2 separate regions of the Homo sapiens genome follow, and region 1 is linked to region 2. Evidence: promoter capture Hi-C in human tissues and cell types (Jung and others, 2019). All regions are on one chromosome and are shown on one strand. The core of a region is centred on a gene start or on the middle of the fragment in contact, and the rest is flanking DNA. Distances in the headings are between cores, read along the strand shown. Region 1 overlaps LOC105377700 (a long non-coding RNA gene). Region 2 holds the start of GABRA1 (gamma-aminobutyric acid type A receptor subunit alpha1).

The links. Contacts are between HindIII fragments. The study calls those that stand out against the background at their distance.
Region 1: a contact is called between a fragment that was not itself captured here and the fragment with the promoter of GABRA1 in region 2, in 1 of the 25 tissues and cell types used here (dorsolateral prefrontal cortex).

Annotation. Positions count from the first base shown.
Region 1 is chr5:163,379,970-163,387,199 of GRCh38, forward strand. All of the region lies in intron 1 of LOC105377700 (a long non-coding RNA gene), which reads right to left. Among named protein-coding and RNA genes, the nearest start is that of CCNG1, 54 kb to the right of the region's middle. The HindIII fragment of the contact is 5,828 bases long and covers 2,584-7,230 here.
Region 2 is chr5:161,842,766-161,850,414 of GRCh38, forward strand. It overlaps GABRA1 (gamma-aminobutyric acid type A receptor subunit alpha1), which reads left to right and starts at 5,355. Exons shown (of 10, transcript NM_001127644.2): 1 at 5,355-5,657. The region is part of intron 1 of LOC105377696 (a long non-coding RNA gene); the gene reads right to left. The HindIII fragment of the contact is 3,679 bases long and covers 2,360-6,038 here.

The DNA of each region.
Region 1 (7,230 bases), core at 4,248-6,747, 1.5 Mb after region 2:
CAACAAAAAGAAAAGGAGAGTTCACATGGTGCCATGAAGGCACAAACGACAAGAGACTCGGAGACCTGGACTCCTTCTGTGGCCAAAACCACATAAAATCCCAAAGGCCGTGGAAAAAGAAAATTTACCAAATTATTCACACACACAAAAAAGCAATGAACTGACCGGGCATGGTGGCTCATGCCTATAATCCCAGCACTTTGGGAGGCCGAGGCAGGGGGATCACCTGAGGTCAGGAGTTCGAGACCAGCCTGGCCAACATGGTGAAACCCCTTCCCTACTAAAAATACAAAAATTCGCTGGGCATGGTGGCACGTGCCTATAATCTCAGCTACTCGGGAGGCTGAGGCAGGAGGATCACTTGAACCCGGGAGGCAAGGATTGAAGTGAGCCAAGACCACGCCATTGCTCTCCAGCCTTGGTGACAGAGCAAGACCCCATCCATCAGGACATAGGCATGGGCAAGGACTTCATGTCTAAAACACCAAAAGCAATGGCAACCAAAGCCAAAATTGACAAATGGGATCTAATTAAACTAAAGAGCTTCTGCACAGCAAAAGAAACTACCATCAGAATAAACAGGCAACCTACAGAATGGGAGAAAATTTTGGCAATCTACTCATCTGACAAAGGGCTAATATCCAGAATCTACAATGAACTCAAACAAATTTACAAGAAAAAAACAAACAACCCCATCAACAAGTGGGTGAAGGATATGAACAGACACTTCTCAAAAGAAGACATTTATGCACCCAAAAGACACATGAAAAAATGCTCATCATCACTGGCCATCAGAGAAATACGAATCAAAACCACAATGAGATAACATCTCACACCAGTTAGAATGGCAATCATTAAAAAGTCAGGAAACAACAGGTGCTGGAGAGGATGTGGAGAAACAGGAACACTTTTACACTGTTGGTGGGACTGTAAACTAGTTCAACCATTGTGGAAGTCAGTGTGGCAATTCCTCAGGGATCTAGAACTAGAAATACCATTTGATCCAGCAATCCCATTACTGTGTATATACCCAAAGGATTATAAATCATGCTGCTATAAAGACACATGCACATGTATGTTTATTGAGGCACTATTCACAATAGCAAAGACTTGGAACCAACCCAAATGTCCAACAATGATAGACTGGATTAAGAAAATGTGGCACATATATACCATGGAATACTATGCAGCCATAAAAAATGATGAGTTCATGTCCTTTGTAGGGACGTGGATGAAGCTGGAAACCATCATTCCAGTTTGCAATAGTAAACTATCTCAAGGACAAAAAACCAAACACCGCATGTTCTCACTCATAGGTGGGAATTGAACAATGAGAACACATGGACACAGGAAGGGGAACATCACACACTGGGGCCTGTTGTGTGGTGGGGGGAGTGGGAAGCGATAGCATTAGGAGATATACCTAATGTTAAATGACGAGTTACTGGGTGCAGCACACCAACATGGCACATGTATACATATGTAACTAACCTGCACGTTGTGCACATGTACCCTAAAACTTAAAGTATAATTAAAAAAATGCAATGAACTAATTTCACAGCCTTTCTTTTTCAACAAAACTCTGCTTTCAGGAAAAAACTAGAGCACTACTGTTCCACTGTCCCCTCAATCACTTAGTAACCAGCCTTAGGCAACTCATTTAAGCTTTATCAACTGCATCTTCCCCCCATGCACCTGTAAAATAAGATTGTGCTACTGATACCTACTGTTCATATGAGAATTAGATGAGATAATACATCTAAAGCATTTAGCAATATGCCTGGCATGAAGTAAGATCTCAAAAAATGACATCTATTATTTTGAGTATATGACAATGACATGTTGCTGAAAGATAGCTTGAAAATTAAATCAGCTTACATGTGGTGAGACATAAAGGGAAAGGTAAAAAGGGTTTTTTTTTTTAACAACAACAAAAAAAAAACAGGGAACAACATTCCCCTTTCTTTAGGATTTTGCTGAAGAATGATTCCAGGTTTAGAAATAGTCCGTCGCTAAGGCCAAAGGGTGTTTTCTTAACTATTCTCATAAAACTCAATCATTCCTCATACTCATGAACCCTTTATTGACCTAAGTAGACTACGGTTACCTTTGGCAAATAAATATTCTGGAGGCCCAATTAAATTTGAATTTCAGGTAAACAATGATTTTTAGTACAAGTACAGTATTCCATTAAATAGCTGAAACATATCTTTACTAAAAAATTATTAGTTATATGTCTGAAATGCAAATAAAATTGGGAATCTTGTATTTTATCTGAGAATCCCAATGAACACCTGGACTCCAAAAACCAGGAAAATCTAGATGGTGCACCCACAGCAACCCTCAAAGACCACAAGCGTGAGCCTGGGGGCTGATGAGAATACTTTTTTAAATTAGAATATCACATATACGTTCACTGGCTTGAGTGAGTTTTTTTCCTTGCAATCAAAAGGCTTGACTGCCAAAACACGTGTCTGTTTCAGCTTTTCTGTCTTAAAAGATGGAGGCGTAATACTCACCAGGCTCTTGTAAAGAGAAAATAGAAACTAAATATGAAAGTACTTTATAAACTAGGTTTTGGGGACTTCCGGGTAAAAATACTAGATTGAACACATGCTCCCTCCAGAAACCTTGCTAAAATAACAGGATAGAAATTGTTTAAGGCATGAACCCAAAAGGAAAGAGAACAAAACCCAAAAGGACAGAGAGGATACACCAGCAACAGCAACCCTCCCAAGGAGCAAGGCAGGTGAGTGAAGCTGTCTTGGACCTTCTAGATCAGACCAGCTAAATACCATTGAGTGACCATCAAACAACAGGCGAAGAGGAGCAAGCCCCCAGCTAAGTTCTATTCAAACCTTTAACCAAGAAGATGATGAGATAATAAAATAGTACTTGTCTTAACCCATTAATTTTGGGTGAATTATTACACAACACTGGAACACACAATAGAAGGCAGAATGGAATAGATGTCATTAAGACACAGGGCTATATAGGACACAGGTGGAGACCCATTGTTAACTAAACAAATTAGAGAAGAGTTCACAAAGATAGTGGTATCTCAGCTGGTCTTAAAGGATAAACAGGCTGGGCGTGGTGGCTCACGCCTATAATCCCAACACTTTCGGAGGCCAAGGCGGGAGGATCACTTGAGGTCAGGAGTTCGGGACCAGCCTGATCAATATAGTGAAACCCCATCTCTACTAAAAAATACAAAAATTAGCCGGGTGTGGTGGTGGGCACCTGTAGTCCCAGCTACTCAGGAGGCTAAGACAGGAGAATTGCTTGAACCCAGGAGGCAAAGGTTGCAGTGAGCCGAGATCGCACCACTGCACTCCAGCCTGGGCAATAAGAGCAAAACTCCGTCTCAAAAAAAAAAAAAAAGAAGAAGAAGAAAAGAAAAGTGAAAGTTTCGCCAGGTGCAGTGGCTCACGCCTGTAATTCCAGTACTTTGGGAGGCCGAATTGGGCAGATCACCCTAGGTCAGGAGTTCAAGACAAGCTTGGCCAACATGGCGAAATCCCGTCTCTACTGAAAATACAGAAATTAGCTAGATGCAGTGGCATGTGCCTGTAGTCCCAGCTACTTGGGAGGCTGAGGCTGGAGAATCACTTGAACCCGGGAGGTGGAGGTTGCAGTGAGCTGAGATCACACCACTGCACTCCAGCCTGGGCGACAAGAGTGAGACTCCATCTAAAAACAGAAAGAAAGAAAAGAAAAGAAAGGAAGGAAGGAGGGAAGGAAGGAAGGGAGGGAGGGAGGGAGGGAGGGAGGAAGGATGGACAGAAAGGAGGGAGGGAGGGAGGAGAGGGAGAAGGAAGGAAGGAAGGAAGGAAGGAAGGAAGGGAGGAAGGAAGGAAGGAAGGAAGGAAGAAAGTTTCTTTCCCCCAATCCCTCCTTATTAGTATGTAAAATCCCAGGGAAAGCCTCTGACTGGCTAACTTGTCCATGTCCCCTCCCTTAGACCAATCATTGTTACCAGCTGATAGGGTAATATTATTGGCCAGTGCCCAAAAACTGAGTTAATATAATCTACAGTCCCAACAGAATCACTAGTTATGAAGGAATGACAGTTCCTACTAACGATAAAGGAACAGTGCTGTAAATCAGAATCAGGATGAAAATATTATAGGGCCGATTAAAAATAAAACCAAACAGGCCAGGCGCAGTGACTCATGCCTGTAATCTCAACACTTTGGGAAGCCAGGGCAGGAAGACTGCTTGAGGCCAGAAGTTTACGACCAGCCTGTTCAAGATAGCAAGACCCCTCTCTACAAAAAATTAAAAATTAGCCGGGCATGGTGGTGCACACCTGTAGTCCTAGCTACTTGGGTGGCTGAGGTGGGAGGATCACTTGATCCCAGAAGTTCAAGGTTGTAGTGAGCTATGATTGTGCCACAGCTCTCTAGCCCGGGCAACAGAGCTAGAATCTGTCTTAAAAAAAAAAAAAAAAAAAAAAGTCCAGCACATGGATATAATGACTGACTTTGTTTGCAGATTTACCATGTGAACAATGGACCCTCACACTTTTAAGGGCTGCATAAGTATTCATTCCTCATGCCCTCCTTTCCCCATTCAACCCCAGTCGAGGCCAATTGACTCTAAACTTAAGAAATCATAATCCTGAAGGAGTTAAACAACTTTCCTATCATGTAAAGGTCAATGAATAGATCTTGCACCAGAATTCACCAATTCTGCATTCCTGACATGTGCAGCAAAGGCAAAACATTCAAGCACGGATACATACTTCTTGAGAATGCAAAATAAAAATATAGGCAACAAAAATAATGTGGAAAGTGGATAAATTTTCCACTCCTGCACAGCAGATTTTATTTCCAAACATCTCATTCCCTCCTAAAAAACTGCAGTGCAGATTTTGCAAACACGATGGGTTACATAAGTAGGATTATGTACTCTTCATGCAAACTCTGAAGCCAGCTGTCCATCCAGTTCTATTTCCCAGATAGGAAAAAGCATTACAACCCAGTTTCAACACAATGCTGGATAGATATTGATAAATTCTGACTCTCTCGTTTCAAGTTAGAAAAAGGAAAATATATTTTAAAAACGTATTCACCTAGACTCTTTTAATAAAGTCAGTGGCATTTAGACTATAGGATTATGGTTTTATAATTATATATTCAGTAAGAATATCAGGAATCCATACAATATATTTAAGTGTTATACGTTTGTTTCCTAAAAAATTCATATGTTCAAGTCTTAACCCCCTGAACTGCAGGATGTGACCTTATTTGGAGAAAGGGCCCTTACAGAGGTAATCAAGTTAAGATAAGGTCATTAGGGTAGGCTCTAATCTAGTATGACTGATGTTCTTATAAAAAGTGGAAATTTTGAGACAGCAAGACACAGAGAGCGAATACTACATGAAAATTCAGGCAGAGAGCAATGTGATGATTCTACAAGTCAAGGAACAGCAAACATTGCCAACAAACCACCAGAAGCCAGGCGAGAGTCTCCCTCTCAAGTCTCAGAGGGAATCAACTCTGCCAAAAATGTGATCGTGGATTTCCAACCTCCGGAACTGTGAGACAATACATGTCTGTTGCATAAGCCACTCAGTGTACAGTACTTTGCTATGGCAGCCCAAGGAAACTAATGCATTAAGCAAGAAACATCATGTAAGAAATGAAAGACGGAATACATTCCCTCTGAAAACAACTTTAATCTTTTATTCCTACATTTACTCTAACGAAGAGTTTAGTCTATTCTCTCCAGACCAAATAATCAGAAATTGAAGGTACTGTCTTCACAACACAGGCCCAAAATTCCACTATGTTTTATAAGTAAAGTTAGATTCCTTCCTGGTCCCTAAATTATGCAGATAACAGTCTCAACCCTCAGTTTTGGCTAGTCATTGGGAAGTAAGCCTGATTTCAAGTAGAGGAGTTTAGACCACCTTTCACCAAAAAAGACTACACTTCCATTTCACTCTGTTTGCTGGTCCATAGAGAAGAGACCAGAAAAAGGCTAGGTTTTCCCCTGCTAACCTGTGACTGCCTGCTAACCAAATCAGCCCGAGATTTATTATCTGCCCTAATCCTCCTGCTCAGTTCTATGAGGGTTCATGTTCCCTCTTATGCAAGTGCTGGGGGGTAGGGAAGGGAAGATAATGTTGGAAATGCAAGAGTAGCAATCTTTACTATCTGTAATAGTATATGTCAGGTAGGGTTGGGATCCAGTACCTGCCTAGGAGACTAAGGTTTTTCAACTTTTCTGTTTCAGATGCATTAGCCTCCCACCTAGCCAAGAAAATAAATCAGAACTTTAGTGAAGAGTTATAAATCTGATATCCCTGACGCTATGACTCCAAGCAGCTTTTTCCATAGGTCAGTGTACAGTTTTGGCAGAATTATATGGTCCATAGCTACTTATTCATTGGCCAATCTGATCATGAAATTCAATTGTTTCTCCAATAGGTAGCAAGAAAGCAGGATGCAGTGAAGGCAGTTACCAATTGGCCCTCAGCCTGGAAAGTCTGGACTTTGTTGCCATTCCAACCTCCTTGGGAGTCACTAACAGGCACAGAAATAAAATTGGGTTCAGGGTTATTGCATCATTCAAAAAACAAGGGTTCTAGGAGAAGCCTATGGTCCTGTTCTTGCCTCTGTTATCTTTTTGTTACAAAATGTAGCTGTTTGTCAATTGCAGAAGCTCACTGAAGAATGCAAAGAGCATGGTACATGTGCCAACCTATGCATTCAAAATGGCAAATGCCAAATTGTATTGTATAGGTAGATGGTATGGAGAGCATTTGGAAAAGGCATTGAGGTGCATGTGTTCTCAGCAGAAATAAAAGTTCAAAGCTTCAGGAATCTTTTAAATTTCAGCCCCTCTACTCTCCCAAATCTGCCCAATCCATCTGGCTGACATTCCTTTCACTTCAGGTTTCACTATTGCCTCTTTGCATGCCCCATTCCTTTGAGATTTGACTCTTCACGCATTGCCTTTTTTCTTTTCTTTTTTTTTTGGTTTGGTTTGGTTTGTTCTTGCGTCCAATACCTTTATTTTACATATAGAAGCTGAGACCAAAAAGAAACTTTGGGTAGTCTGCTCCAGGTCAAACATCCATGTCAGGAATTCTGATTCCCATGACAACGACCTGTCAACAACATTATACTTTTGAGCCACTGGAATTTTATTTAACTAATTGTGCTGCATTTAACTGTGTTTGTTATTTAAGGTATTCACAGTTATATTAGTTTAGACATC
Region 2 (7,649 bases), core at 4,105-6,604:
TGTAAGTTGACTCTCTCACTTAGATCTATGTTTCTTTCTGCAAGATAGACACTTAGTCGTTGTTACTGATTGGATATGTATTCATTCTGTTAACTTTAACAATGAAAAACATAAGTAAACATACATTCTTATGGTTTAAAAGGAGTTTACACATAGACTATGTGTGTGCATATATTTATGCACTTTAATTTTACCAAAGGAGACACATAAACATCCTGAATGCCTGATTTTAGCTATAAATTTTTTTTAATTGCATGTTTCCTCAATCAAGTTATATAGGATACAGCATTTTAAAGTATTTAATCTAGAGAGTTGTGACAGCATTTTAATAAATTATATTTATTTTCTTACCTCCCTTCTGACTTACATTAGTCATCGTGTTACCAATTTTATTTGGAGAGTCAAAAAATTCTTCTTCAAGGATTTCAAAAATAATTTATATATTATTTGAACTTTTAAAATAAATAATTGTTTCTAATCATCAGCTTATTATCATTTTTCCTAACTCTGAATAAATCTGCATTTACCTTCTTGGGTTGATGGGTTAGACATCTGTGAAAAGAAAAGTCTTTGAAAGAAAATGGGTGAATCTGGGTTACATTTGAGTTGCTGATAAACTGAAAACTGCCAAAAGAGGAAAATTGGATAGTGCCCTATTTACATTACTGTTAAATAGACTCTGATTCTCACATACATATTTTTATTCCTGATGAGTATTTGTTGCATCTTATGGAAAAATAATGTAAATGTATCTTTTGGGAAGCCTGTGGTTGACTGTACTAGCTGTGGTTCGAACATTTGCTGTGGTTGGCTATATCCTGTATTATATTCTCTTCAAATGTTACTGGTTTAACGTGTATGTAAAATACTCTATGCCCAAGGCCCATGTAGGAAAATTTCCCCGACTCAACATCTTAAAAATAAAAACATGGGCCTAGGATTAAGATGGCACAGGAGCTAGCTTTTCCCACTACCTGTCTAAGTGAAAATTTTATTTCGACAGTATGCAAAATGTTGACAGTACTATCAGTATTATTAGTTATTTAAACACGCTGTAGATAATGCACTAAAATGCAGAGAAAAGAATAATTTTATGGCAAGAAAAAAGAGAGAGGAAAATTGGCATTCATTAGATGTCTATTAGGTGTCACACAAGAGGGCTATCTGATTCACACTTGTTTTCCTATGTAATGCCACCACCAGCTTATAAAATATCATTACTTCATTTGAAAACTTCAGAAAAGTTCAGCAATCTGCCCACGGCCTTACAGTTTTGAAACATCTGTGACTTCAAGTATATATTCGTGCATAATCATTTATTGTGCCATGCTAACCTGGGTTCTACTTCTGTAAAGATCATGTGAAAACTTACGTAAGCTTTGTGACCTGTCAAAGTGGTTGGGGCAAACAATCTCTAAATTCCACTAGAGTGCCAAACACTTATGACTCAAATATACATAAATTTTGTTTTTGCTATATTTACCATGTTTCTCTGTATGCTGAAATACCAAACGAGACTTCCAGCCTGGGAAATATAATTTGCCTAAATAACCCAGATGACAAAGATGTCTAGATTAAGGTACAAAAATGTAACCTATTACTTAAACCACTTTTATTTTCTTTTACTCCTACTGAGCTATTATTTCAATATCACTTATAAAAGAAGAGACATCCCTCTGGATATGCTAGTATAGTCAATTAAACATGGTGGTCTGTATTATATACAGAGGGATTAGAAAAGTGGGACTACTTAAATGAGTGTAATGAAATATTCCATATAAATATTCATATATATAATGCATAATGCTAAAACACAATTTCATTGTAGATATCTGAGCCATTCAAATACACTTTAAAGGATCAATTTTTTCTGAGTTTCAACGAAAGTTTATTTGATATTTTATTATTTTTACTTATTTCTTTTCCTTCACCCTACATTATTTTGTAAACTATAAAAAGACACACTGAATAAATGAGAACACTCTTGCTATTTTTTTCTCATTTGGTTCACGTTTAGTTAAAGAAAGTAAAAACGTTTCTCTGTTGAATAGAATCAGCACCACTTCATCAATTAGGTAAGGGCTTCCTGCCATTTAAAATTGACAGTAAAAGCGAAAGGTACCAGACTGCAGCACTGGAGATAGAGTGATTAGGCATCCCTAGGATCCCTGGTTCTAGATTTGACCTCAAATTCTTTCTGCCAAGACTTTGTAACTGCTCAGAGGGCCTTGGCCACCGGCCTCATGAGACAAAAGAAAAGTAGCTTAAATCTCTGAAACGCTAAAGTAAGCCTGATTCTATGTTGCAGTTGGATGTACTGGATCATCAAAATAAAACTCTTGCCATGAATAAATAATAATAAATACTCAGAGATGAGCTTTATGTGACTGACATAAAGGTGGTCAAGCATGGATATAAAATGAATGAAAAAGATTTTACTATGAGCTCACAGTCTCACAGTAAGGAAAGAGAGTAATGTAGGAGTGTGGTTAAGAGAATAGGCTTTGAAGTCAGAGCATTTGGATTTGCATTTTAGTGTGGATATTCACTAGCTGTGTGACCTTAGGCAAGTCTTTTGATCTCTCTAGTCTACAATTTACTGAATGATTTGTATAACAGAAATATTAAGACCATCTCTCATAGAGACTCATTTTGAGAATCAAATTGAATTATTATGAAAATTACTTTTCACATTACTTGGCACCAAGTAAACACTCTAAGAATATTAAACACCATAGTTATTATCATTTAAAAAAACTGACATCATTATATGCACACATAGTTTGAAGTGGTTCATTCTGGCTAAAACAAAACACAAGAATATCAAAAATTATATAAAATATTGAATATAAAAACACAATATAAAGTATTTTCTTGTCATTAATTTATTATATTTTATGGTAGTATGTGCATATATTAATGACATATCAGATGGAACACAATAAACACACCCATAATTAGAGTATCAATTGATGTTTTGGAGTATTAAAATATCATTATTTTTAAACACTCACAATTTATGAAAAATATAGATGTCTTAAAGCAAATTACATGTATGTGTGTATGTATACATACATGCATATACATATTACAAGCTGATATTCATAGAGAATCATCTAGTAAAATCTACCTTGTGAGTATTACATTTTAAAGAGAGAATCATAGTATAGGTATTTCCATTTCCATATACACACTATAGCCCCCAAATTATTTAATATTTATTTCTTTAAATGTTTGAAAACGCTGTGCAATTGTATCCTGTTTCATAGTCACATAACATTTTTTAATCTGAAGCAGAATGTAATTGGCATTGCTCTGAGACTATTGTTCACATGATGAAGCTTCAGTGAATTTGTTTGCAAAACCAAAATCAGTAGAGTGATTTAGTTGTGTTTCATTAGATAAAGGATATAAATTTATTTTCAATTTGTAGAAGATCATAAAAGGACCTGCAACAGTTTAGCCAGGAGAACACTAAAAATTCAGATTTTTATAACTGTTGACTTTCATTAAAACAAGACAAAACTGTGGAATTGCATTGTAGATGAAGTAAAAGAATAATGTTTTCTAATCGTTAACTCAGGATTTCATTATTAATTATAAATCTCATTAAATTCAGTTTTATTCTCCAAACCACTCAATAAATTAATTAATCAATGGATAAGTAAATAAAAATTGGGTAATGACACATAGGGAAGCTGTGATGTTTCTTCAGCGAATATCTTTAAGAATACATTGGCATTTATTATATCTGAACATAACAGGCAATTAACTACTGCCCAGAAACAGGGCTATCTTAACATAATCTTCAAATCTCTCTTCCAAAAGTTTATCTCTAAAATCACTTCCCAGTTGACACTTGACCACAAAACTCAGAAGGTAACCAAGCCCAACCCCTAATGTGGTCTTCAGTTTTATATTCCTTATTATTGCAATCACCTTATTTAAGTTTTAATCATTAAGCTGATTGCATTGCTGCACAAGGTCAAGAAGCACTTGTAGAATCAGAAACCCCAAAGTGGTTATGGACTGGCTACTCAGATTTTTTTCTTCACTTGCTCAGGCTCCGCCCCATCTGAAACGTCTTCTCTGCTAGGAACTCACTAGGAGAAAATGACCAGTGAGCTTACCAAAGCTCAGACCTTATCCACCAGAAACATTGTATGGGGCACCTCACCTTTTCAGCACCTCCTGCCATAACAGGACGGAAGTGCTGAAGGGACAGCTCCCAGTGTTTTAGGTCTTAGTAAGCGCTCCCAGGAAGACAGCACCCATCCCCTCTCTGCTACAAACAGCCATTCACAAAATCCGAGGAGGAAACCAAGTCATCCCTGATTCCTTGGAAATTTAGTTAGACTGATGTTGAAACACACCCCCCTTTCCTAGTGTATAATTATTTGTGGGTGGAGAGCTACCAGGGAGGGTAACAGAAGATGCCGGAGAAGGGGGGGGAAAAGTAGATGCGGATTTCGTCCTGACTTCTAAAAATTCCTCCTCTCCCTCTCCCATTTTCCTAATCCGAGAATGATGGAGCTCGAGGCAAAGGAATGATTCCGGAAATGGAGATATGATTCTCAAACCTAGAAATGATCGGAGTGATTTATTAGTTAAATATTCTTCGTCCAGGAACCCAGCACAATTCAGAGGTAACAGCGCCTGCGTTTTCTCCATGATAACATAGACAAACAGTTGCCTCCAAAGGTAAAAACCCGGTTCCGGAGGGTATTCTTGCTGTCCTCTAAGCTACAGAAGAAGGTGGGGTGGAAAGCGCTCCCAACCTGAGAAAGTGCGAAAGACTCTCTAAATCCAGTAGCCAATTTCCTACCTGCCAGAACTCTTTCCTACCATCCGTCACCATTCGTGACTCTGCAAGACACGGGGACTTAGACATATGTGTGGGAGTGTGTGTGTGAGGGAGAGAGGCGAGACGAGTGCTCTCCCCACACGTGTAACCCTGCATCTCCCAGTTTCAGAGCTTGCGTTCATTCATATGCAGGCAGTGGTTTAATATTTGATCAAAGGTAGAATAGTTGCACTAAATAGTTGTATTTTTAATGGGCTCACCTTAAAATCGGGTGTTCATAAATTGCAAGTGTGAAAAGACTCTAAGTGCAGTCCGTATGTCTCTCACCCTTTCTACCCTTCCCTCCCCCATTGCCGCTCCCCCCAAAAAGAGAAGCTTGCAGCAGATTGTAGAAGGATTTGAGCCTGCAGCTAGAGAGAAGGGGATTAGGGCCAGAGTGGTGCAAGTTAAATTGTGCTGCATATAAAAAATGGGCGGATTGGTCTCCAGATCCAGAGGCTGGTACCACCTTCCTTTCTAAAATAAAATCTCTCTGGCATGAAGTCACCGCCTATTTCACATCCGGTTTGCCCTGGGACGTATTACTACTGTCTTGGTAAAGAGAAATCTTTTGTTGTATAGCTGCAGATTGGATATTGGGAAGCAAATTTGGGTGTGAAATCTTCAGCAAAGGAGCACGCAGAGTCCATGATGGCTCAGACCAAGTGAGTGAGAGGCAGAGCGAGGACGCCCCTCTGCTCTGGCGCGCCCGGACTCGGACTCGCAGACTCGCGCTGGCTCCAGTCTCTCCACGATTCTCTCTCCCAGACTTTTCCCCGGTCTTAAGAGATCCTGTGTCCAGAGGGGGCCTTAGGTAAGTGCGACTTTGGACCACGATACACAGACAGAGCTTTGAACGTGGCTTTTCCTAGCTGGAGAGACAGGAATGTTATAGTCGGGGGGGGGGGGCGGGGGGAGACGGGGGGAGAGAGAGAGAGAGAGAAGAAGGAGAGCGAGCGAGCGAGCAAGGGAGCGAGCAGGACAGGAGCCTGATCCCACAGCAGGTAGAAACAACGAAATGTTTTTCTTTCAGGGTGAAACCGCAGCAATATAAGAGCATTATTATTATTTTTTTCCCGCTGTCTTTCTTCTTTTCTTCTCCTCTTTCTTAGGCATATTTGAATGTATTCCGCAGGGTGGGTGGTGGCATGTTGTTTTGGTCTTTTATTTATTTATTTATTTGCAAGGGGGAGCTGGGGTGAGTTGGGGAGGGGCGTCGGGGGCCATCATCTAAAGTTAAGACGCTGGGACGGAAAACCTGTCTCACTGTTCCATCATCCTAGGGAAGGCACGCTCTTGTCCTGGCTGCAAAATTGCCTGTTTTTCCCTTTCCAGTGGACGCTGGTGAAATGCCCTCTTGTGTAGGGGTCTCTCCCATTCTGAACACGAAAACTCAACTTAGTCTTTGATATGGATGGCATGGGATGGTAACGTTTGGAGCGTGTGTCTGGGGGAGGGGGAGGTTGAAGGTAGAAAGTGGTAAGACTGCAGCTTAGCCTTTCTTTTAAACTATTATGTTTGTATTTGCAAGAAACTTTCTTAACAACTGAAGTGCCATGATAGGTTTGTTTTTCTCTTTTAAAAATGTCAGAAGAGGGCAAAAATCTATGGTGCCTTGTCAAATGGTTTTGCTGTGTTTTGTTTACCCATTCAGATATTCAATCTTTTTAAAAAGATCAACAAAAATTAATAGGGCTAAGAAAAGTTGTTTTTCCCTTGTAACAAACGATGAAGATTAGTAAAAGGGTAAATTAAAATTTTGCAATTTAGATGTAGCATTTTAACATAATATTTATCCAAGATTTCTTGTCATAGTCAACTAATCTGTTTCAAAACCAGTCACTAAATTACTAAATTAAGGAAAAGCTATGACGAGGCTCAGAGTTCTTATCTCTAGACCATTTCGCTCTAAACATATTATGTTTCATTGCTTACAAGCCTGTTTGTAATGGTTTTTAGTGATTTAAATGATTTCCCGAGACTGCAGAAAGCATTTTGTAGATGTATTTAAAGGCATACCACATTAAACTATAGAGGGTTTAATGAAAAAGAAGCTTTAAAAGATTGCAGTCTATTAATCACTTACCCTACAAAGAAATATAGATTAAATACTTTGAACATTCCTTATATTATGACTGGAATTAATTACAGCACATTAAAATGTTACCATAGCTGCTCCTTATCCAGGTAGTGCATTGAATTTCGAAAACTGACTCCACACATAGACTATATACATTTTTAATTCTCTAAGCTTTCTGTACTCTTCCAGTTCTCCAACATTCCACTACCAAGTCTAAATTCAACAATCAGATGGTGATTGATTGCACTTTACCTAAGAGGTAAAAAGATCCCTTTATTCATGCAAAGCAAAGCACTCCAGCTTCCATCTGTTTGAGATGAAACATTTTCTAGCAGCAACCTGGCAGAATTTGAGAGGGCTTGAAAGATATGTGTGGGCATGTTTGTGTGCATTTGTGTGTGTGTGTGTGTGTGTGTGTGGTTTGTATGTGAGAGAGATCAGCACATGGCTTGACTATAAAGTGTGTCCTTTAGCTTCACAGAAACATTAGGAAGCATGTTTAACAAAGCAGTCACAGGAACAGAATAAAAGCACGACTCCGGCATTCAACAGTGTGTTTCCTATGTTTTTAAATAGAAATAAATACAGTTGCTTCTGAAATCAAGGTACCTGCAGAATTCAAAGAGGAATTCAGCCATCACAACATGTTAACCTATCCCCTCCAATCCCTAAATATGTTCTTCCTGTTAGAGACACCAGCTTAAAAATTTTAATGCACAGTTCACT